5 separate regions of the Homo sapiens genome follow, and all the other regions are linked to region 1. Evidence: promoter capture Hi-C in human tissues and cell types (Jung and others, 2019). All regions are on one chromosome and are shown on one strand. Each heading gives the region's core, a stretch centred on a gene start or on the middle of the fragment in contact. The rest is flanking DNA. Distances are from core to core; before and after follow the strand shown. Region 1 holds the start of SYN3 (synapsin III). Region 2 overlaps LARGE1 (LARGE xylosyl- and glucuronyltransferase 1). Region 3 has its middle 75 kb from the start of LARGE1-AS2. Region 4 overlaps SYN3 (synapsin III). Region 5 has its middle 30 kb from the start of LARGE1-AS2.

Region 1 (2,872 bases), core at 173-2,672:
CCTGATGACAAGACTGAGGTCACAGGCTCCAGAAACAATATCAAAATGATGTGCAGGCTGCAGAAGCAAGCATTACACGGGCAGCATCTCTTTGCCTGAATCCATGTCCAGAAGCCAGGGAGCAGGGCTCCCGGGCAGAGGGGGCTCCCTTAAGCAGGGAAGAGTATTTGCAGCCAAGGACCAGAAAACAACTACAACTTACCAGCTTTCTGATGCTCCGGCCTCCATCCATTGTCCCCAGAGCTGCCAGAGGGACCTGATCACTGATCAGAATTCTTCCACGGCCCTCCTTCATTCCAGGATAAAATTCTAAATATTCTAAGGCTGCACTTTAAGGTCTGTGCAGGTTTTAGCTTCCTGCCATGTCGAGAGCTCATTTCCTACCTACAGCAAGACCCGGTCCTACTCCATTATCTGCTGTAGAATTATCTGATGTGCTAGGTCAGGACACCGGACCTTTTCAGTTTCTTTACCTTTACACAAGAAAACCCACCTGGAATTCCTGCTCCCTATCAACTCACAGTCCCAACACACTTTTCAGCCTGGCAAAACCTCCGACTTCCAGTCAATGCTCACCTCCTCTCTGAAACCTTCCTGGCTTCCTCACCGTCCTCTTCTCCATCTCGAGTCTTCCGCACTACCCTGCACTGCAATTGCTCCTCCTACTGTCCCTCTTAGCCCCAGAAGCTCCCCAAAGGCCATTCTTCATGCTGCTAGGGCTTGGCACAGTTCCTGGCACTCAGAAAAAGCCAAGTAAGTGCTGGATAGATACACGAGGTGCTGTATCCATAGCTATTCTCTGCTTCTAGCTTGGCCAGGAAACCACTCTGAAATTTCATCCTGCCCCCAGGATGACTGGAAATCGGAAATGGCATGACAAACCTGACCTCCCAAACCCAAGGCAACAGGTCATGAGGGGTCTGGGGACCTAAGGCAGGTCCTAGGAGCCGGCGCAGAGCAGAGGTCCGGCCGCTGCGGTTCCTGGTTTCCCGCAAGCTCTTCCCCGGGCCGGGCGCTGGGTGGAGGCAGTCTTAGGATCCACAGTCTTGCGCGCCCCCGGCTCCCGGGCCCGGCAGACGGCCCCCGCACGCCGATCTGTCTGTCCCAGGGACCGGCCCAGGGCCCCGGCAGCGGCAGCCTGGGGAGACACCGTGGTGCGCGGCTCCTTGCCTCCCTCCCTGCCCCTCCGTGCGCCCGCATCCCGCGGACACAGAGCCGGAGCTCCAGGGGACGCAGCCCGACGCGAGAACGCACCAGCAGCCCCCGCTCGAGGTGGGGTCTCCCGGCTGTCAGAAACCCCACAAAGTCTACTTTGCGGCGCCGCGCCGCTTACCGTGCGAGCCGCCAGGAACTCGGCGCCCGGTGGTGCCTCGGCGCGGCGCCCGCCAGTCGATCCGCTCCGGGTCCCGGGAGCTCAGCCTCTGCCCCTCAACGCGCGCGAGCGCCCCCGCCCGGCGGCCCGGCCTCCCCGCGCCGCGGCGCCCCATTGGCTCGGGCAACGAGGCCCCCGGACGGCCCCGCCCACCCGCGCCCACTCCCTCGCCCACGCCTCTCCCCAACGCCTTGCTGGGTTCACCTCTCCAGGCAGGGAAAGTTGCTTCTAGACTCTGAGCTCTCACCGGACTCAGGAGCCCAGTTAGCTAATAATTCTGGGTCCCAGGAGTGTCTAGACGCCCCTCGGGGAGTGCGAAGAATGCAGTGTCCTTGGAATCCACCTTTGGGAAAGTCAGCTGACCTCCCGGACCTCAGGTGGCACCTCAGAGAAACCAGGGCCCCTTGTCAGGAAATGTCCCAGGTTGTGGGCTAGGCCCTAGGGCCAGGATGCAACAGGGAACAAGACAAAGTCTATCGTCCTCGTGGACTTTGCATGGGGTGGAGGTGGGGGTAGGTTATATACAACAAACGAAAAAAACAAGAGAATGTCGGCTGGGTGCCTGTGGCTCACGCCTGTAATCCCAGCACTTTGGGAGGCCGAGGCAGGTGAATCACGAGGTCGGGAGTTCAAGACCAGCCTGGCCAAGATGATAAAACCCCGTCTCTACTAAAAATACAAAAATTAGCTGGGCATGGTGGCCCTCACCTGTAGTCCTAGCTACTCGGGAGGCTGAGGCAGAATTGCTTGGACCCGGGAGGTGGAAGTTACAGTAAGCCGAGTTAGAGCCACTGCACTCCAGCCTGGGCAACAGAGCTAGATGCCGTCTCCAAAAAAAAGAAAAGAAAAAGAAAGGGGTCTAGGACTGCTATACCTAGGGTGGTCTCCGGGCCGCTTGTGATATTGGATACTTGGAGGACAAAAACGATTCCAGGGCTGAAGCAAGAGCATTGCTGACAGAGGGGTCGGCCGATGCATGGTTCTGAAGCTGGAACTGGCCCCCAGGGTGGCTGAGTGAGGTGAGCAAGGGGAGAGTGGGTTACAGCCAGAGAGGTAGACTAGTGTGGAATCACCATCACCCAGAACCTTGTAGGCCACCGTGAGGGTCAGGGCTTTGTCATATCAATCTGGAGGGAACAATTCAGGCAAGAGATTATGGTGATGAAGACCAGGGTGGTGACAGCAAGATACGGAAAAGGTGGACCTCCTGCAATGTGTGTCAAAAGTAGCACAGGAAGGCTTGATGATGGATTAGGCTGGATTTAGGGGATGCTATGGTTTAAATATGTTCCCCAAAGTTCATATCTTGGAAACTTAATCCCCAATGCAACAGTGTTGAGAGGTGGGACCTTTAAGAGGTGATTCCATTAATGCCAGGAGTGGCCCTCTCCCCACCCCTCTGCTGCTCTCTTGTTCTGCCTTGTGCCATGGGGTGACTCAGCATGAAGGCCCTTACCAGATGCAGCCCCTCAATCTTGGACTTCCCAGCCTCCAGAGCCA
Region 2 (2,872 bases), core at 134-2,633, 220 kb after region 1:
GAACGAGTACTCAACAATTGTGCACTAAACTGAATGAATGAATGAGTAACCTAACAACATGAGAGGCACCTGAGACAGGTCCATGTGTGAGATGGCAATATGCCTCTAGAAGCTACAGAGAGACGGCAGGAAGCTGGGCATCTAGTGAAGGACTAGACAGGGCCCAAGAGAAGAGTTAGGAAGAGTATCCAGAGCTGGAAAGAAAAGCTTCATGAAATGAAAACAAGACAGAAGGGTGGGAACCCAAGAGCATAGCTGCAGGGAGAGAGGAAGTGGAAGTCTGGGTTCCATCTCATCCTGTGGGCAGTCTCTCCAAAGCAAGGGAGGCGCTAAGTGAGACTGAGTGTTCCGTGTGGCCAATGGGACACTTTCTGGCAGGGAATGCAACTGCTTCCTTCTTTTGCTTTTCTACCACTGAGGCTGGACTCCCCCCAAACCCTCAGGGAACTGGCCAGTGCAGCTGAATGGGCACTGGCCAATGGGTGGGCTTTGATCAAGTTGTGCTGTTGGGTGAGACAGCCAGGCTAGGGGAGGGCAGGAACTTGAACTTCAGCTCCATCAACACAGCAACTTCCATCAAAACCAAAGCCACTTAAATGGAAGAAAAATGAAAGGTGAAGCAATGCCATTTTCATGGAGTGTGGAAAAGGGATATTGCGGGAGATGTCAATTTCGGGCATGATCCAACAATTAGGCCCAGAAGCAGTTGCTTTTCCATTTGTGAACTTGCTGAATGGGCAGTCTTAACACCTGATGCCTTCAACAGAACTGGCACAGCACAGCTGATGGCCGTGAACTTGTATGAGGTTTTAAAGCACAATGGAGCCATCAGGCCAGGGTTCAAATCCCACCTCTGCCACTTAGGAGCTGAATGCCTTGCAGAACAAAATGCTTTAATTAGCCGTTAATTTCCTTTTGTGTCAACTGGGGAAAAGAATACCTATCTGGTTGAACTGCCAAAGAGCTTAAGTGAGAAAATATAAAGAGTCTGGCGCAGTATTGACATCTAAGAGGAATTCAATAAATGCTAGTTTTATAACAAAGTGGTTAAAAGCAATGGTTCTGGAGGCTGCCTGCCTGGGTTCCAATTCTGTCATTCAACAGGTATGGGTACATTAACTACTTGGCACCTTTGTTTCCTTCTCTTGGCAAAACGGACACAGCAATATCTACTTCATAGATTTATGATGATTATGTGACTTAATTCACATACAGTACTCAGAGTAGTTTCTGATATATGGTAACTCCTCAAAAAAAAAAAAAAAAAAAAAGAGAAAGAGAAAATTCTCTTTATTATTTCTCCTTGTTTGCTTCCCAGATATGATGTCAATTCCTGGTGGTCTTGCTCTCAGTGATATTGACAGCCATGTTATTGGTCATCCACCTTTAGAATCTAAACTCTCAGAAAATTATAATGTGAAAAGGAAGGGAAAACAATGGGGGAGACGGCGCCATTGCACTCCATTGTAGGGACAGCTGGGTCAGTTCTAGTCATCTGGCTGAGGAGGCAGCTTTGATCAGTTTAGCCTGGACACTGGCAGCTTGCAGAAAGGCTGGGCAGCACAGGGTGCAGTCAAGTTACAATGAACCTCTCGTTAAAACAAGCCCCAGCCTGTGAATGACCTATTGCCAAATGCCAGGTAGCCTCCTTCCCTGCTAAAAAAGGGATGGGAAGATGAGAGAGGTTTCCTAGGTACACCTTACAGGATGCTACTGGGGAGAAGAGATTTGGGGCACTTTGCTTTAAGCAGTGGTTCTCAAACTTGAGTATGCATTAGAATTATCTGGAAGACTGGTTCCAATTCCAGAGTTTCTGATGCAGGAGGTCTGGGCTAGGCTTGAGCCTCTGCATTTCTAACAAGTTCCTAAGTGATGCTGAAGCCACTGGTCCAGGGACCGCATTCTGGAGCCACCGCCCTAGAGGACTTGTAGGGGTGTGGATGTTTTCTCATTCCAGGTGTGGTAGGGAGCAGATTTCGGCTGCTCAGAGGCTGAAGAGTTTGTTATTTGGAGAGCAGGTGACAATAGCAATTTCTCGGAGACAAGGGCTGTAACTTAGCACTTGGCATGATGGCTGGCAAGCTGCTGGCCAGAGCAGCAATCACGGACACAGCAGGCCACACCCCAGCTCTTGTGGCCACAAATGTGGCTGTGAAATGAGTTCTCGGTTCACTGTGGTATGAAGACGGCAGGAAGGATGCCTTGGAAATGTGTCAGGTGCTCAGCCATCAGACTATGGCATTCATGGGAGACTTATATTAAGGTTTGGTTTGAAAGTCTCAATTCTGAGGAGCAAGTTTTTACTCTGCATCTTTAAACACTGGTTAAAAAAAAAAAAATTCAGGACTCAATCAGTAGCTGGATGGCATTCTGACTGAGAACACAGGTTCCTCAGACCTGGTACGAATCCAGGCTCTGCTATTTACTGGCTGTGTGTCATTGGGCAAGTTATTAAACTTCTCAGAGCCTCAGTTTCATTATCCATGCAATGGGGATGATAGTATCTGTCACATAGGTTTATTGTGAGAATTAAATATGTAATCACGGTGCCTGGCACATGCTAAGCACACAATAAGTGGTAGTTATTTCTTTCAGAAAAGAAGGAAGGCTTGGGTTGGGTGGGGGGTTACTAACTCTTCCAGGCCACTTTCCAGAATTCTGGATAGAGGAAGAAGCCTGGAGTTTGAGTCTTGGCTCTACTGGGACCTCTCCACTCCTCAGTTTCTTCATCTGTATAAAATGTGAAAAATGATAGCCTCTGAACTGTTGAACGAACAACCCACCTCATAAAGTTATTTTCACAAGATAAAGTTTATTTGAGGAAACTTGCTAGAAATTTCTAGAAACTTAATTGTGGTAGGAAAACCCAAGT
Region 3 (2,872 bases), core at 258-2,757, 180 kb after region 1:
TTAAAATCAAATTAGATGCAGCTAGAAAGAGAATGAGTAAACCAGGAAAATTAGCCAGAATGCAACAAAAAGAGATAAAGGGAAAATATAAAATAGAAGTTAGAGACATAGAGGATAAAATAGAGTGTCTGGAATATATCTTGATCCTGTAAGTGGCTAGCCAGAGAACCTCAAAAACTGACATAATTGCAAAGAAAAAGTAATATATCTATAATCATAGGGCGTGATTTGACAATATCTGTCCTAGGAACTGATATATTTAGTATACCAAATATTAGTGGGAATTAGAACATTTAAACAATCTCATGAGCAAACTTGAGCTAATGGACAAAATAGAGAAATTTACCACCAAAGAAAATGCATTTGCTTTCTGGCTTATGTGAAATTATTGAAAAAATTGACCACAGAATAGCCCATAAGTAAAATCTCAGCAAGTACCAAAGAATAAATATTTTACAGTGCCATAAAATTAGAAATCAATAACAAGAATATAAAGCCACACTCACTTGGTAACTGAAAATACACATCTTTATCATTCATAGTTTGAAGGAAAAATTACAATGGAATTAGCAAACATTAAGCATCGTATAACAATGAAACCAGTACATACAGAACCCTTTGTGACATTACTGAAGTAGTGGTTCCTGGAAAATGTATAGCCTTAAATTCATATATTGAGAAATAAGGAACACTGAAAATAATTTAGGAAGTGGTTACATTTAAGAAGATCAAAGAGAAATAACAGATTAAATCCAAAAGGAATAGAATGGAAGCAATAATAAAAGTAAGAGTCAAAATTAATAAAATAGAAAAAAAATAAGATCAAATCAAAGTTATCTTCAAAAAACAAATAAATTAAAACTTTGGCAAGATTAATCGCAAAAAGGAGAGAGAAGGCAAAAATTAACCTTATTAGGAATGTAAAAAAAAAAAAACCTCAACAGACCTGCATATTTTATAAACCATAATAGAATACTATGCTAAACATTATTGTTTCTCTGTTCATGCTGGAATTTAAGGGGATGGGTACATACCTAGTGAAATTGCTGCATCAAAGGGTATATACACAGTCTACTTAAATACATATTGCCAACTTCTTTCCAAAGCAATTAGTGTAATTTACAGTCCTACCAGGAAGATAGTGCCCACTTACACACAGGCTGGCCAGCATTTAGTATCAACAGATTTTTGTTGTTGTTGTTTGAAACCAAACGGGTGTGAAATGGTATATCACAATGGTTTTAATTGCACTTTCCTGGTTATTAAGCTGACAATACTTCCATATGTTTCCTCTGTGAATTATCTTTTCACATCTTTTGTACGCCTTACTATTTCTTTTTTTCTTTTCTTTTTTTTTTTTTTTTTTTTTGAGACAGAGTCTCACTCTGTCACCCAGGCTGGAGTGCAGTGGCGCGATCTCGGCTCACTGCAACCTCCACCTCCCAGGTTCAAGTGATTCTCCTGCCTCGGCCTCCCGAGTAGCTGGGACTACAGGTGCATGACACCGCACCTGGCTAGTTTTTGTATTTTTAGTAGAGACAGGGTTTCACTATGTTGGCCAGGTTGGTCTCGAACTCCTGACCTTGTGATCCGCCCACCTCGGCCTCCCAAAGTGCTGGGATTACAGAGTGAGCCACTGCGCCTGGCCTGCACCCCTTACTATTATATGCTTTGCATTTTCTTTTAGATTTGAAGAACCTCATTATAAACTCTAGCACTAATCTTATGTCAGTTAAATGCATAGCAAATATCTCCTGACGTGGGAGAATATATATTTGCAAGTCTTCTTGTGAACATATGTTTTCAGTTCTAGGGAGCCAGACGCCTATGAGTGAAAAGCCTAGTCATCGTGGAGAAGTGCATTCAACTTTGTAAGAAACTGCCAAACCTTTATTCATAATGGTTGTATAAATTTTACATTACCACCAATAATGTATGAGAGTTCCAGTTGCTTCACATCCTCACCAGCATTTTGTTTTGTCTGTCTTTTTTCCTTTGGTTATTCTAGTGGGCATAAGATATAATAGTATCCCTTGTGGTTTAATGTAAATTCCACTGAAGACTAATAACATTTGCATATTTCTAATTAATAAGCCTTTTTAAGTGACTTTTCAAGTCTTTGCTCATTTTTATTAGATATTTGCCTTCTTATTATTGATTTGAAAGAATTATATTTATATGCTTATATTCTGGTTATAAGCCCTTTGTCATTATTTTCCAAAACAATATTTGGTTGTTTCTGTACTACTTTCCTTGCTCCTTTGAATTGACTTGGTGCCTTGGCCAAAAATCAATTGACCACATACATGTGGGTGCATCTCCAGACTACCACATTCCGTTTATCTATTTGTCTCTCCTTGTGTCAATAACACTCTGTCTTGATAATGGTAAGTTTTGAGATCAGGTTGTGTAAGTCCTCCTAATTTTTCCTGGGTTTTCAATATTGCTTTGCTTTTTAAAAATTTTGTATTTTCATTTACATTTTAAAATAAACTTGTTAGTGGGATTTTGATTGGCATTGCACTGAACTCGTGGATCAATTTGGGGAGATTGGACATTCTTATATATGGATCCCGTGGTCATCAACTTTAAGAACTCTTTCTCATCCATTAGTAACTCAATCTAGGTTCAGATGCTACTCGTTTTCTGCTCAGTCTGTGTCTGAGCCCCTTATGCTCTTCATTTTGTCATCCAATTAACCTCAGCTTTGCATCAATACTATTTCTTGCTTTGGTGCCTGTTACCTCTCCTCTAATCACCAATCCACAACTTACCTCCAAATTCAGGGCTTGTCTCATTCTTCCCAGGAGGAGTGCTGCTCAGTCTATCTACTTAGTATTATAATTTCTCTGGCTTGGTATCAAGGCACTCC
Region 4 (2,872 bases), core at 113-2,612, 160 kb before region 1:
AATGTTTGCTCTGCCCCCCTCCCAGGACTTATCCATTCACTCCATTCCTCAACTATACATTGGGATTAATTGGATACCTGGCACTGCCGTAGGCACTGGGCTGTGGAGATGCATGAGACACATTCTTTGCTGTCACGGAGCTCATGGAGCCCTGGAAGAGACTCACATAGACAGAGACATTGCCAACATGGTAAGGAAAATGGTGAGGACACCACAGGAACAGAGAAAGGAGCCTTTGTCAGTTGACACAGTAACAGGGGCCCAGGATATTGTCTCCTGCAGGAGTCAACCCTTCAGTAGAGTCTTAAAAATCAGTAGAGTTTGGCAGTAAGTGGAGATTAGGAATTAAGGAACTCCAATAAGAGAACACTTGCATAAGCACTTTGTAGCTGAGTGACTGTCCACGTGTGGGGAAGGAGCATTTTCACTCCAGAGTCTGGTAAGACCTGAGCAAACCCAACTGGTCCACACCTCCACATGCTGTATATGCTATTCCTTTGGAATAGAATGCCCTCCTCTATTTTGTCTGCTTGGAAAATACCCACTCATCCTTCCAGTTGGCTTCAATATCCCCTTCTTCGCAAAGAAAGCCTTCTTTGAACATGGCAGTGAGCTGGCCTGTCCCTTGCTGGGCTTCACTGTATCACATACATTCCTCTCTCATGGCCCTCAGTCCTTCAACAGTGCACATTTGTTTCACAACTTGGTTTTCCACCAAGCTGTGAGCTCATCAAGAGCACAGATGATGGTACCTTCTTTCTTGCAATGTTATCACAGCCTATACTATGACAATCAGACAGTGGACACTCAATAAGCATTGGTCCAACTGGATCGAGTCTTGTTCTAGGGTAGACAAGATCCTGGGACCCTGTTACTGGCCTACTTGTGTGTCATTTATCCTCTGAAAGTCTTCACCTTGTAATACTTATGTCTTCTACGCAATAAACTGAGAGCAAGGGCCTGGTGAATCACTGCTAAGAAACAGAAATTGGAGAACTGTGGAGTAAAGGCTTCAGTCACCAAATTGTAGCCTAGAGAATAAAATGTCCTTCTCTTTTACATATTATAGAAGAAGAAAACAGTCAAGGGTCCTAATTCTGTTCCTACTACTGATTCTGTGACTTTGCACAGGCTGCTCTGATAAATGCTGTGGGTTGGCTAACCCAACAACTACAACCTTCCTCTCTTTTGTCTCTTTCTATTGCAGAGGGTGGAAATCCAGATATTCAATCTTGCCAGGCTCCCTTGTAGCTAGTGCTAGTGACACGTGACCCAATTCTGGTCAATGAGGCCAACACAGAAATCTGCTAAGGACTTCTGGCAAAGTGTCTTAAAGGAGGAGGCCTGAGAGGAGAAGAGCCACCAGGCACGACCCCGTCATCCTGACCTGACATTGACATGATGCCTCCACCTGTGGCAGTCAAGTTGGGACAGCAAGATGGTTCATCTTATGTGTCAACTTGACTGGGCTACAGGTGTTTAAACATCTGATTAAACGTTATTCTGGGTATGACTGTAAGGGTGTTTCTGGATGAGATTTGCATTTGGATCTATAGACTGAGTAACACAGGTTGCCTGAGCCATTGTGGGTGGGCTTCATCAGATCTGCTGGAGGCCTGCATAGAATAAAAAGCTGAGTAAGGGAGAATTCGCTCTCCCTGCCTGCCTGTTGAAGTAGGAGTTGTGAGTAGGAGGATAATGCCAATATTTCAGGTTTCTAGAAATGTAAATGATCCATAGTATAAACCTCCACCAACATGTAAGAAGAGGCAGATGAAAAATATTGAAGCATCGTTAGCATGAAAATAGCGGACCATTCAGCCGTAGTTTACATCTCAGCTGATATGAGTGACTGAAGAGAAGGCAGTTGAAGTGTCTGATGTGTAGTGCATGGCTAAGAATAATCCTGTAATGATCTGAAGGATTAGGCAGGCACCAAGGAGTGAGCCGAAGTTTCATCATATGGAAATGTTAGATAGTGTGGGAAATCAGTGAATGAGTAATTAATAATTTTTATTAGCAGGTGTGTTGAAAACTAGGACATCAGTCTCCTCCTGACTCTGGACTTAGACTGGGACTCACACCATTGGCTCTCCTGGGTCACCAGCTTGCCAACAGCAGATCCTGGAATTCTCAGATTCCATAATCCAGTGAGCCAATTCCTTATAGTAAATCTGTAGCTATACTTGCATGTACATCTATCTATCTATTTATCTATCATCTACTATTGGTTCTGTTTCTCTGAAGAACTCAGACTAATACAGACAGTATAGTATTGAGCATGATAACAAAATGCCAATAATCTAAGAATGACAGGAAAGAATGGCAAAGAGTGACCTGATCCTTGACAGCAAACCTCTCATTGCACCAAATCTGGAAACACCTAGACTCTTGCTATGTGAGAAAAAGAAATGTCTTTATTGCCTATGCCTCTACATGTCAGGTTTTCTGTTACTTGCAGCTAAAAGCATTCCTGACGCATGCAATTATCTCCCATCTCTAAGCCTTATTTCTCGGGTTACACAATGGCCTTAAATGAAACCGACAAACATTTCCAAGTGTCTCTTAGATGCACGGCTCTGAGTGAGGGGTTCAAAGGGAGCCAGCAGAGTAGAGCTTAAGAGTAGGAACTCTGGGGCTAGGCTGCTCGGCTTAGAAGCCCAGGTTCACCAACCCAGCCTGTTATTTAACCTCTCTGTGTATAAGAAGGGTCATACTAGTACTATTAATATTAATAGGGTTGTTGGGAAGATTGAATTAGTTAATCCACGTAAGGCCCTTAGAATAGTGCTCAGCACATAGAAAAATGCTCAATAAATGCTAATTATAGCTAAGAACTAGACATAGGTCAAGCCTTCTGGGAGTTTAGAGT
Region 5 (2,872 bases), core at 149-2,648, 140 kb after region 1:
AGATAAGAGTCCAATTACATTCTTCATGTGTGGATAATCAGTTTTCCCAACACCATTTATTGAAGAAATTGTACTTTCCTCAATGTGTGTTCTTGGTATCTTTGTCGAAGATCAATTAACTAATAAATTAACATTTTGAAGTTGCATTTTAATTTTTCCATTGTCCTACTTTTCATTTTATTTGTTTTTATTTTTCACATATAACTTTATTCTGATTCTGTTTATGATGTGTGTGTGTGTATGTGTATGTGTGTGTGTAATACTCTGGATGCAATGAGGAAAAAAGAATAAAGAGGGAGAGACTGAGAGAGAAGAGTGTGGGTAGACAAAGGAATGAAAAAAGTATAGTTTAGTTAATTTCTGGATATTTTAACCTAAATCACTAAGTACAACCCATTTTATTACTTTTTAAAAATATTATAATCAGTGAAAAAGCAAGAGAGTTTAAGGAACGAATGGGCAGGAAACCATTCAAAGAATATTGAGAAAAGCAAAAAGAGAGACAGTAAAGAAATCAAAGGAAGAAATGATAAAATAGGAACATCACAGCAAATCACATATGAGTAGAGTGATAAAGAAAGAAGCAGAGATAGATATAAGAAATCAGGAAGATAATCAGAATGCATTAATGTGCTATACAGTGCATTACACATCTGGTTAACATAATATGGATGTCGGCCGGGCACGGTGGCTCATGCCTGTAATCCCAGCACTTTGGGAGGTCAGGCATGAGGTGGGCAGATCACTTGAGGCCAGAAGTTCAAGACCAGCCTGGGCAACATAGTGAAACCCCATCTCTACTAAAAATATAAAAATCAGCTAGGTGTGGTGGTGCATGCCTGTAATCCCAGCTACTCAGGAGGCTGAAGCATGAGAATTGCTTGAACCCGGAAGGCAGAGGTTACAGTGAGCTGAGATCTTGCCATTGCACTCCAGCCTGGGTGACAGAGTGAGACTATAAAAAGTAATTTATATATATATGTGTTCATATGTTTTATATATATTGTTTTTATATATTATATATAATGTTTTATATATTATATATGTTTTATATATTATATATGTTATATATATTAAATATGTTATAGATTATGTTTTATATGTTATATATGTTTATATTTTATATATAATTTTACATATATATAAAAACATAGATGTCACATTATTAAAACAATATATTATTTAACAAAATATGATAAATTTTATACTGTCTGCATTATTCATGTCATAAATTTTTATACTTACTTTTTATAATTCACAGTTATTTACATAAAGACTAAAAGAGAATTGGCCCCAATTTGACTTCTTCTGTTTCAAAATCTATGGTATAGCTAAATGAAATATGTTTCTTTGTCCAAAGTTATGGTGAAATTGTTTCCTGGGGTTGTTATGGGCATAAATTAATTGCAGAAGAAAGTGCTTTGAAAAGAGTTCTAAACAAAGATAAATGGCTTATTTTATTGCAATCGTCCTTAACATATAAACTTACCTGAGACTTGCACGGCATGAACTCTTAGTCATTCCTCAGATATCCAGACTTAAGGACAGAAGGTCATTTGCCAAGTTTTTTTTAGCTGTCATTTTCCTATCCCATCAATTTGATTTTCAAGGTTTAGAGATGGAGAGTTTATTCAATTGATTAAATTTTGGATTTTAGTCTCTTCTGAGCCTAATGTCTGGGTTATATGAAATATTTTTAGTATAGATATTAAGAGAAGTTGACATTGAATGTTAAGAACTTCTGTCCATCCACTTCTTGCAGTCTCTACTAAGATTAAGGGTCAAAACTGGGCCTTGGAAGTAGACAAAGTTTGGTTTGTTGCTTCTTCTCTGGCCTCTTCTCAAGCCCCACCCTGCAGGCCACATTCTTGAGATGCCAGGGACACGGAATGATAGTGCTGGAAGACTCCTAAACTTCCATATTCCAACTGCGTAATCTTACAGAAAGGGGAATAGAGAGCCAGAGTGAAGGAGTGACTTTTGCCAGACCAGTCAGCATTACACCTAGGTTGATAGAAAGAGTGCTTCTCTTGACTCTCAGCCCAGAGTCTTAACCATCTGCTATTCCCCAAATCTCTAGACAACTCATTGCTCCGATATTTTAACTACCCTGTCAACACCCTAAAGTTGCCCAAGGTTTTTCAGCTTGCTAAGGGGATAATACATTAAAGGAATAAATTAACCAACTATTTATTTTTTAAAATCTGTGTTCAAGCATTTATCAGGAAGTGGTGTAGTATATGTGCCTGTATCAAGTTATTAGAACCGTCATATCTCAATCAAGATTTAAATTGGTTACTTTTAGTATAGAAAAATACCCTTCTTTCAAACAGATGCTCTTAAATATAATAACTATATATCTCCAAAAGGGGTAAGTTGACAACTCCATAATTAGAGTAAGACATTTGGGCATTCCTCACTCAGCAACTGGTAAAATGGTAAGCAGAGAAACGATCTGAACATTATGAACTATTCTGAACTAACTGGTATCTGTAGAAAACTCGACCCAATAATTGCAGAATACATATTAATTTTAAGATTTTATATTATATTTATCATTATTGGCTATATTTGGGGTCATAAAATAAGTTTTATTAAATTAAAAGATTGAAATTACCCAGAATACTTATCCGACATCAGCAGAATTAAATTAGACACAAGTAACAAAAGGGTAACTAAGAAAACCACAAATATTTGACATTAAATTATAGATTTACAATAATGTATGGGTCAAAGAAGAAATCAAAAAAGAAACCAGAAAACTGTTTGAATTAAATGAAAATGCAAATATATCAAAATCTAGATGATACAGCTAAGGCAATGCTTAAAGAAATATTTATGACACTCTACACTTCTATTAAAAAAGAAGTAG

What was found. Contacts are between HindIII fragments. The study calls those that stand out against the background at their distance.
Region 2: a fragment that was not itself captured here is called in contact with the fragment with the promoter of SYN3 in region 1 in 1 of the 25 tissues and cell types used here (lymphoblastoid cells).
Region 3: a fragment that was not itself captured here is called in contact with the fragment with the promoter of SYN3 in region 1 in 2 of the 25 tissues and cell types used here (dorsolateral prefrontal cortex and lymphoblastoid cells).
Region 4: a contact is called between a fragment that was not itself captured here and the fragment with the promoter of SYN3 in region 1, in 3 of the 25 tissues and cell types used here (IMR-90 fibroblasts, lymphoblastoid cells and thymus).
Region 5: a fragment that was not itself captured here is called in contact with the fragment with the promoter of SYN3 in region 1 in 6 of the 25 tissues and cell types used here (H1 embryonic stem cells, dorsolateral prefrontal cortex, heart left ventricle and 3 more).

Annotation. Positions count from the first base shown.
Region 1 is chr22:33,056,959-33,059,830 of GRCh38, forward strand. It overlaps SYN3 (synapsin III), which reads right to left and starts at 1,423. Exons shown (of 14, transcript NM_003490.4): 1 at 1,334-1,423. The HindIII fragment of the contact is 13,516 bases long and covers 1-2,872 here.
Region 2 is chr22:33,279,066-33,281,937 of GRCh38, forward strand. All of the region lies in intron 13 of LARGE1 (LARGE xylosyl- and glucuronyltransferase 1), which reads right to left. Among named protein-coding and RNA genes, the nearest start is that of LARGE1-AS2, 120 kb to the left of the region's middle. The HindIII fragment of the contact is 6,242 bases long and covers 1-2,872 here.
Region 3 is chr22:33,238,188-33,241,059 of GRCh38, forward strand. It overlaps a transcript of LARGE1 not described here. Among named protein-coding and RNA genes, the nearest start is that of LARGE1-AS2, 75 kb to the left of the region's middle. The HindIII fragment of the contact is 4,291 bases long and covers 1-2,872 here.
Region 4 is chr22:32,893,204-32,896,075 of GRCh38, forward strand. All of the region lies in intron 4 of SYN3 (synapsin III), which reads right to left. Among named protein-coding and RNA genes, the nearest start is that of TIMP3, 93 kb to the left of the region's middle. The HindIII fragment of the contact is 4,957 bases long and covers 1-2,872 here.
Region 5 is chr22:33,192,854-33,195,725 of GRCh38, forward strand. It overlaps a transcript of LARGE1 not described here. Among named protein-coding and RNA genes, the nearest start is that of LARGE1-AS2, 30 kb to the left of the region's middle. The HindIII fragment of the contact is 5,925 bases long and covers 1-2,872 here.